Regions from separate parts of the Homo sapiens genome. Here all the other regions are linked to region 2. Evidence: promoter capture Hi-C in 16 types of primary human blood cells and fetal thymus (Javierre and others, 2016). All regions are on one chromosome and are shown on one strand. The core of a region is centred on a gene start or on the middle of the fragment in contact, and the rest is flanking DNA. Distances in the headings are between cores, read along the strand shown. Region 1 overlaps RANBP17 (RAN binding protein 17). Region 2 holds the start of RANBP17 (RAN binding protein 17). Region 3 overlaps RANBP17 (RAN binding protein 17).

The links. The method cuts DNA at HindIII sites, captures the fragments that hold promoters and counts their contacts. A CHiCAGO score of 5 or more calls a contact.
Region 1: a fragment that was not itself captured here is called in contact with the fragment with the promoter of RANBP17 in region 2 in 3 of 17 cell types (megakaryocytes, endothelial precursors and M0 macrophages); the score reaches 5.5 in megakaryocytes.
Region 3: a fragment that was not itself captured here is called in contact with the fragment with the promoter of RANBP17 in region 2 in 2 of 17 cell types (megakaryocytes and M2 macrophages); the score reaches 5.9 in megakaryocytes.

What each region holds. Positions count from the first base shown.
Region 1 is chr5:171,197,345-171,200,118 of GRCh38, reverse strand. It overlaps RANBP17 (RAN binding protein 17), which reads right to left. Exons shown (of 28, transcript NM_022897.5): 19 at 346-449. Among named protein-coding and RNA genes, the nearest start is that of TLX3, 110 kb to the left of the region's middle. The HindIII fragment of the contact is 988 bases long and covers 1,023-2,010 here.
Region 2 is chr5:170,860,608-170,863,412 of GRCh38, reverse strand. It overlaps RANBP17 (RAN binding protein 17), which reads right to left and starts at 1,395. Exons shown (of 28, transcript NM_022897.5): 1 at 1,362-1,395. The coding sequence starts at 1,379. The HindIII fragment of the contact is 4,534 bases long and covers 1-2,038 here.
Region 3 is chr5:171,159,394-171,162,446 of GRCh38, reverse strand. The region is part of intron 14 of RANBP17 (RAN binding protein 17); the gene reads right to left. Among named protein-coding and RNA genes, the nearest start is that of TLX3, 150 kb to the left of the region's middle. The HindIII fragment of the contact is 2,109 bases long and covers 233-2,341 here.

The DNA of each region.
Region 1 (2,774 bases), core at 267-2,766, 340 kb before region 2:
TATAGATCTGTTGTAACATAACAGTGCAGGATAGATGAGGGAATAGGGGTGTTTAAAGTGGTGTACCCACAAGAAATATCCTATTAAAGATAGTAACTGCCAGAGGAAACAAATCTATGTCATCTTATCATGAACTGACTGTCCAAAACTATTTGCTGACCTCAAAGTCCATTTGTCTAAGAAACTAGAAAAATGCTTAAATAAAAGTAAAAATTAAAGACATGCAATTGGGAAAGCAGGTCTGAGGAGGCAAAGAGTACACACAGATATGCAAAGCCCTTTTCTGGATCTAGATATCCTAGAAAAAACAAAACTGTCATTCCTCATATTTGGAAACAAACCCACCTTTACATCTTCTTGTTTAAAGTTGTTGTTGAATATTTGTAATACTGTTTCAAAAGCAACTGTAAGAGGCAGCATGAAATTCTCAAATTCATCCTCATCTTCACCTATCAGAGAAACAAAAGGGTCACTACGGTTTAAAATGCATAGAATTGTACATTGTCCTCAGCATTGAGTGCTTCATTTAGGCTTAGAAATATTCCCGAGAAGGGGTCAGCCTGCATTCACATCCATGCCACATTTTGTACTTTTGCTCACTGAATATTCTGGTGTTGTGCCTTCTCTTTTGCATCAAATGAAATAGCAAAATTACTTACCAGCCATTTTTTTTTTCCTGGTTCTTTAGTGGATCTAATAGACTCATGCCCCAGGCATCTCAGTCCTTTAGCTCCTAGGGCCCCTAGAGCTTCTCTAATGCCTCAAGGAAGACCACTTTCAAAGCCTCAGAGACGCAGTGTTTTTTTTTTCCCCCTTCTCTTTGGGTGCCAAGGCCCTAAAGGGCTCAAAGACTCAGGTGCCCAGATAGCTCTAAGTTATTATTCTCTTTTATTTATGTTCTTTTTAATTAATTTATCAAATAAATGGCAGGGAAACTTTTATCTGCCAAAAAGGATGGGGTCCCTTATGGGTCATTTGGATTTTAAATACATTCTCCATGGGTACACTTCTTACACTAAGCTTCCTTTTTTTTCTCTTTTTTTTTAAATAGAGAAGAGGGAAAAGAGACATTTCCTATTAACTTTTTACTTTAAAGGTAGACTGCAGTTTCCTCAAGGATTCTGTCAAAGCAGAATCTTCACTTCACACATGGATATGCACAATTGATAATTTATATAGTATTCTTTTTCAAAAGGGGTTTCTTTTAAATGAGAGATTGAATTCACTCATTCATCCTAAGTCACAGGGAGCTACGAGCTGCACTCTACTGAAGAAACAGGCAGAGAAAGGTTAAGTGTCTTGCTTAAGGTGGAATACTTAGTTGGAGGTGGAACGACATGGTTCAGACCTCCTAATTTCTATTCTAACAGTAGAGTTTTTCAATAGAGTATTAGAGAGGAAATGAGCTCAGAGAAGGTCCTCAAAGTTTGGTCCTTGACCTGGGAGCATCAACATCACTTGTGAACTTGTGAGATGTAAATGCCCAGGTTCCATCCCATATCTATTGAATCAGAAACTCTGGGGGTGGGTCCCAGCAATTTTGTTTTAATAGGCCCTCCAGATGATTCAGATGCCTGTGAATGTTCGAAAAACACTGGCATCTATAGTCATTTTTCAGACAAAGTAACGGAGGTCCTGGCAGGATCAAGATCTTTTGACTCTTAAGGAGTGGCTGATCTGGCTGACTCTAATCTTCTGTGATTTATCTCTTTCCTTCAATTTCACATTGTTTCAGGAGTACAACAGAATTGGGGACTTAGCTTTGTTACAAACAGATGCCAAAGGGCCAACAAATCTTTACTGGTGTGCCGTTCTAAACGAAGGTCAGTATCCTGAGTAAAGAGTAAGGCAGACCAAATTATAATCTCTTCTCTGTCAACTGGCTGTGTGACCAAGTGACTCCTCTTAGATACACTCTTCTCTGTTAACTGGTGATAACATAGACCTATACAGATGTTATTTTTCAAGGCCCAGGTGAAATAATATCTTTCCCAATGTCTAAGCTAAGCTTTCCTAAATCCCAATCAAGTTATCTCCCTTCTCCCTTTGGATTCCCATAGCATTTTGCCTGGCTTGTTTTGAGACGGAGTCTTGCTCTGTCATCCAGGCTGGAGTGCAGTGGCACGATCTTGGCTCACTGCAAGCTCTGCCTCTCAGGTTCACGCCATTCTCCTGCCTCAGCCTCCTGAGTTGCTAGGACTACAGGCGCCTGCCACAACGCCCGGCTAATTTTTTTGTATTTTTAGTAGAGATGGGGTTTCACCGTGTTAGCCAGGATGGTCTTGATCTCCTGACCTCGTGATCCGCCCGCCTCGGCCTCCCAAATTGCTGGGATTACAGATGTGAGCCACAGCGCCCGGCCGCCTGGCTCTTAACTATTGTACCGGTCTGCCTTGAATTGCAGATATTTAAGCATACATCTAATAATAGCAACAATAATACCACTTACATTATACCACAACTACCATCTGATCAGGGTTACTGCGGGAACTAAATGAGATAAAATTTATAAAGTATACATGTAAATTACTAGCTCTACTAGCTTACGCTGATAGTATCTTCGGATTAGCTTCTATGGCACTGAGACTGTGTATCTTTGAGTTTCTCAGTGAAGGAGAATTATGTAGGGCTCGGCAGTAAACAGGTCCAGGTGTCTGACTTTACCGTATATTATTTACCTTTGGATATTTTACTAATTACTCTGAGTCTCAGTTTCCTCATCTATAAAATAAGTATAAAAATACTTATCATTGAGGGTCACTGTGAAGATTAAA
Region 2 (2,805 bases), core at 146-2,645:
CAGCCAAGTTATAAATCAGTGTGATCACAGGGGGTTCAAAAGAGTCTACAAGGGGAATGAGATTCTTAGATACACTGTCACCATATTATGAAATTCCCTTCCCTCCCTGGGGTCATCTCCTGCCACCCACTGCCTCCCCTGATCCCATCCCTTTGTCCCAACCAGACTCAACTTTCTGCAGTACACCATGTTCTTCCACAATTCTTTGCCTTGGCTCACACGTCCTTCTACCTCCATATCCTTCCCTTCCTCTTCACCTGGCAAACAACTACGACTCTTTCAAGGACCAGTAGACTGCAAGTTCCCTGAGAGTAGAAACCATAGTTTTGTTCAGAGCTGTTGTATCTTCAGCGCCTAGCATAGTAGGCGCTCAATAATTAATAAATGGAAGAATGGAGGCTCAAAGAATCTTAAAGCATCTCTCAGCTAAGAGCATAGCAGCTCTGCTTCACTCCTTCTCAACATACACATTTGGCTGGCTACCCCCTTTTCTGTGCTATGATACTGTGACTATTTCTACCATACATTTTTCACTTGTACTGTAATTCTCTGTTAACTGTATGAGGGCGAGGATAGTAAGATGTCATCCTTTATCCCCAGAACTTTCCACAATGCTTGAGACACAGTGGGGAGATAATAAATGTTTGCTGAATAACTGAACGGGGATGTCAGAGCAGCCCGAGGATATACAAGCACGCGTCCCATCTTCGTAGCCTCTGCGATCCTCGCGTCCGCGCCCGCGCCCGCGCCCGGCCCGGGTTTCCTCCTCCGAAGAGGCGGCCGCGTAGCCCTCCCTCGCAACTCCCCCCAGACGCAGCCCCTGTCTCCTCTGGCCAATTAAAGTCCAACCGCTGCCGCCGCTCCTTCGGTGGATCCCAAGCCCCCGCTCCGGCTGGGGCTCAACTGTGTGGAGGGAGGCTGACGATAGAGCCGCGCCGGCGACGCGGCGGGAAGGCGGGAAGGCTGCTCCACCGCTCGGCAGCCGCGCGAGGCGCGCCAAAGCCGGCCCAGCTGGGACTCCCACCTGCCCTGGCAACACTAAAGCCGCGGTCAGCGAGCGTGCTGCCGGCGTCCGCACCTTCCCCGGGACGAGCCCTGGGCCTGTCCCCCGCCCCCTCCACCCGCCGCCTCCAACCCAGGCTCGGCCGCCCCTTTCTCGGGCTCCGGCCCGGGCCTGGGGTGTGCAGCCCAGACCAGTGTCCCGGTCCCCGGCTAGGGGCAGAGGCAGGGGCTGGGACTCCGGGGACACCGGCCCACGGCCCTGCGGCCTCCGCCGCTGTCCTCGGCCCTCGGTCTCCAGACGCGTCCCGCCGGGTTCCCAGCGTGGCGGAGCGCGGGCCCGCGGCGCAGAGCACACTGACCTGGAAGTGCAGCGCCATCTTCCCAGGAGGCGGCGCCGGCCAGCCGGCCGGTCGGCACCCAGCGCCCGAGGGGAGGGAGCAGAGGCGGGCGCCGCGGAAGCCCCAGACGCCCGCGGGGTCCCTGCGCCGCTCGTCCTTCGCAGCCTCAGCCAGGCTTCGCGTCCGCATTCGAAGCGCTGGAGGGGCGGGGCTGGGAGGGACGGGGCGGGGCTGGGAGGGACGGGGCGGGGCGACGGAGGCGGTGCACGGGGCGGGGCCGATAGGGGCGTGTCCTCCGGGAATCTCAACCGTCCCTTGCGCTCAAGTTTCAACCGGCGTGTGTTGGTGGGTCATGACCTCCAACCTCTGCCCTTTGACACAACTACCACGACCCACCCGTCAGCCGTGGACCCTGACTCATAAGTCTTCCAAAGGCTCTCTTGACCCCTGACCCTCAAAATACAACTATCGCCCATGGCTCCCGACACCTGCATCTCCACAGATTTTCTTGTCTCCTAACAGCCAGGAACCACAGACACACACAGCCATAACCTTTGACTCCCACATGCCAGCTGTTGCCCTTGACCCCTGACTCCCAGGGCCCAAATTCCATTGTTGCTTAACAATGTTTTTAACTTGATTTTGGTTAAAATTAAACCGCCCATGTCTACATGCTGTTAAGTTGTAAAATTCAAGCTTTACCTCATTCTTTGTCTGCATTTTGTTTAATATGAACTTATATTTTACAACAAATGATTCCACTGCAATGAGAATTTATTGGAGCAGAATTGGGTCAAAGTTGCTGCTTTCTGATGTTCTCCGTTTTTTCTTCAAGTTCAGCATTTCCATTTGGGAGCACTGTGCTGTAGTATTTAAGAGGGAAACTCCCTTAAGCACTTCTTGTATTCAGGTCTGCTAACAACAAAGTCTCTCAGCTTTTGTTAACATAAAATCATCTTAATTCACCTTCATTTTTTAAAGGATAGTTTTGCTGGGTATAGAATTTCACATTGGCTTTTTTTTTAATCTTTCAGCATTTTAAAAATGTCTTCTCATTGTCTTCTGCTTGTCATTGTTTCTATTGAGAAATCAGCCATCAGTCTAATTGTTGCTCCTGTCTTTTGGCCCCCTCCTCAGGTACTTGAACATTTTTCTCTTTTTTTATTTTTTCTTTTTGTCTTCAGCACTTTGTGCTTGATGTCGCTAAGTGTGTGTGTGTGTGTGTGTTGTATTTATCCTGCTTGGGATTCATAAAGCTCTTTAAGTGTGAATGTAATCTTTTTTATCAAGTTTTGAAAAATCTTGGTCACTAGTTCTTTAAATATTGCATCTGTCCCCTTCTCTCTCTCTACCTCTCCATTCTGGAACTCCAGTTACATGTATGTTATAAGTTTTTGCTATATTCCTTATTTCTATTCTGTATTTTTTATTTGCCTGCTGTCCATTCCATAGAAACTCTGTTCTG
Region 3 (3,053 bases), core at 38-2,537, 300 kb before region 2:
TGACTAAGGATCTCCACCAGCATGAACCTAATGCCTCCCGACAGGCCTTCCCTAGCCAAGAGGGACCTGGGTTGAGTGCACCAGTTACTGGTCACAGGATATGCAGTCCACAGAAAGACTCCTGTGGTGCAACCAGCTGAAAGCCAACCAGAGAAAATGGAGAGTGTACATTTGTCCTGACACAGCTTTGCTCCTGTTGGCTGCCAATTCACTCCATGTCTGGGGCCAAGCTTCTGTTAAACTAGTCTTCTATGGATAAAGCCATGGTAAAGCCCTGGGTAAATATATTATCTCCCCAAGCCCATTCAAAAAGAAGCTAACTATGGCTATGGCACCAGATGCTTGGGAAGAAGGCTTAATTTTAGTAGAGGATTTTGGGACCATGGTTTGAAAGAGCATTTCAGACAGTTAAAGGAATATTTATAATTCTTTGCAATAGCAAGTTTATAAGATGACGATTAAATTTTAGGGCAAAGAAGCTGATGCTGGATGAAGTTTGTGAGAGGGTGATAGCAGAGGTGGGGAACTGGGAAGTAAAATATTTTGTTTAATCCCCCGTACCTCCTAAAGGTGTCAGCCAGAAACACATTCTGACACAAGGGATACATGTGCTCTAGACACTGTTCAATAACAGATGCTATTCAATGTAGCCAAATAAAACTTTCTTAAGTATTAATAACTGATTATAATTGGTTACTCAGCAATGTTAGCATCAAGAAATCTAGGATGCTTTTGTACTATGCAACCACATTAAATATAGGCTTTGCAGCTAATACTGCTTATTAGTGGACTACTAAACCTTTGGCTATAAAATATGAACATTGTAGAATTATATAATGCATAAAAAGGGAATGAAGACAATGCATGCCTACACTTAATCATTGTATGCATATGCCTGTTTTACTAATTAGAATCTGAGGCTGTAGTGAGACAAGCATAAAGATTGCTGGTCCACCATCATAACCAGCAACCCAACTCACCTTAACTATTTTCCAAGCCTTCTCTGGAACTCTGGGTACATCACTCCTCAGGCGTACAACCTAAAAAGCACAAAGTTTAGGGACCTGCCACCTGGCACCAGAAATAAGAGCAAAAGGCCTCCCCAATCTCAAATAAAAGGAGAAAGTGGCTGACAATCTTTGTGGTTGTTACTTATGATATTCTTGGGACTTTGATTTTATTCTGGAGCCCATGAGCAGAGACATGGTGAAGTCCTGTTCAAATTCTGGATGTGGTTATATGAATGACAATGGGATTGCTTCAGTGAGATAATTCCAGAAACCAGTTACTAAAAGCTAGCCCTAAAAAAGAATAAATCATAAATAATATTTGACAGAATGATTTTTAAGAATCTCAGCCGGGCGCGGTGGCTCACGCCTGTAATCCCAGCACTTTAGGAGGCCGAGATGGGTGGATCACCTGAGTTCCAGACTAGCCTGGCCAACAAGGTGAAACCCTGCTTCTACTTCTACTAAAAATACAAAAAATTAGCAGGGCGTGGTGGCACGCGCCTGTAATCTCAGCAACTTGGGAGGCTGAGGCAGGAGAATCACTTGAACCCAGGAGGCAGAGGTTGCAGTGAGCTGAGACTGCTCCATTGCATTCTAGCCTGGGCGACAAGAGTGAGACTTCATCTCAAAAAAAAAACCAAAAAGAATCTCTTAGTACTGTTTCCCATGAAGCACTTTCATTATAGAAGTGTGGCAACTGAGGCTAATGACTTAAGCAGGCAAAGTAACCTTCTGATTGGCAAAAGTACATCTTTTAACTAGGGTTACAAAGTATAATATCACAAAATAGGAGGTAATCTAGTGAAGTGGTTAGGAATAGATTCTGAAGCCCAAGACTAGTGAGATTCTGCCACTTACTAAGTAATTTTGAGCAAGTTGCTTACCCTTTAAACCTTAGTTTCCTCAAATATAAAAAGGATGAGAGTAGTACCTAATCTGTGGAATTTTTGAGATTAAAATGGTTAATTTATGTGAAGGACCTATAACAGTCCTGGTATACAGTAAAATTTTCATAAGTATTACCTATTATTTTTATTGGAATGTCTCTTTTCTTTGTGCTTTATCTGGACTAGATACTAGAAAACAGATATATGTTCTAAGTGGGTATGTGAGTAGCTTTAGTAGTAGTTAGAGGGGAGAGGGTCTTAATGAAAGGTAACATAACTTCTAATATTAAATAATGGGTCTAGTCTTTGAGTCTTGCAAAGAAATAAAGTAGTAAGAAAAGTGATAGAAAAAAAGTCAGGAGAAAAACAGAATGATCTGTGGTATTTGGTGTTATTTTATCTCAAGAACTTATCTGCATCACCTATATTGCCAGATTCAAAGCTTTCATCCTCATTTTTTGAGTCAATACAAGTTCCTGCTTCCTATCTCCAAGGTAAGTTTTCAACTCACTGAGTAAGTAGATGATCACTGTGTCCAATAAGTTATCAAAGTTTTCCCCATTCAGATCAATAGGTCCATCCAATTGTCCAAATTTTCTTCTTTTTTCTTTTTTTTTTTTTTTTTTTTTTTTGAGATGGAGTCTCACTCTGTCGCCCAGGCTGGAGTGGCATGATCCTGGCTCACCGCAAGCTCTGCCTCCCGGGTTCACATCATTCTCCCGCCTCAGCCTCCCGAGTAGCTGGGACCACAGGCGACTGCCACCACGCCCAGCTAAGTTTTTGTATTTTTTTAGTAGAGACGAGGATTCACCGTGTTAGCCAGGATGGTCTTGATCTCCTGACCTCGTGATCCACCTGCCTCAGCCTCCCAAAGTGCTGGGATTATAGGCGTGAGCCACTGTGCCCGGCCCAAATTTTCTTTACTAAATTAATGTACACAGACACGGGGGTCCAGAACACTATCATTAGTTTAAAATTATTAAGAGTTTTTAGGTGATGGGCTCCCAAGGGGCATTCTCTCACAGTGGGAACAGAAAGGGGCTACCTTTCAGAAATAAATATAATATTACTGATCTCTGACACTAGACTATTGGTTCTAGGTTGCTTCTCCTATTGTAGGACATAAAATATCAAGGATCTAGCTTAGTTCTTTTGT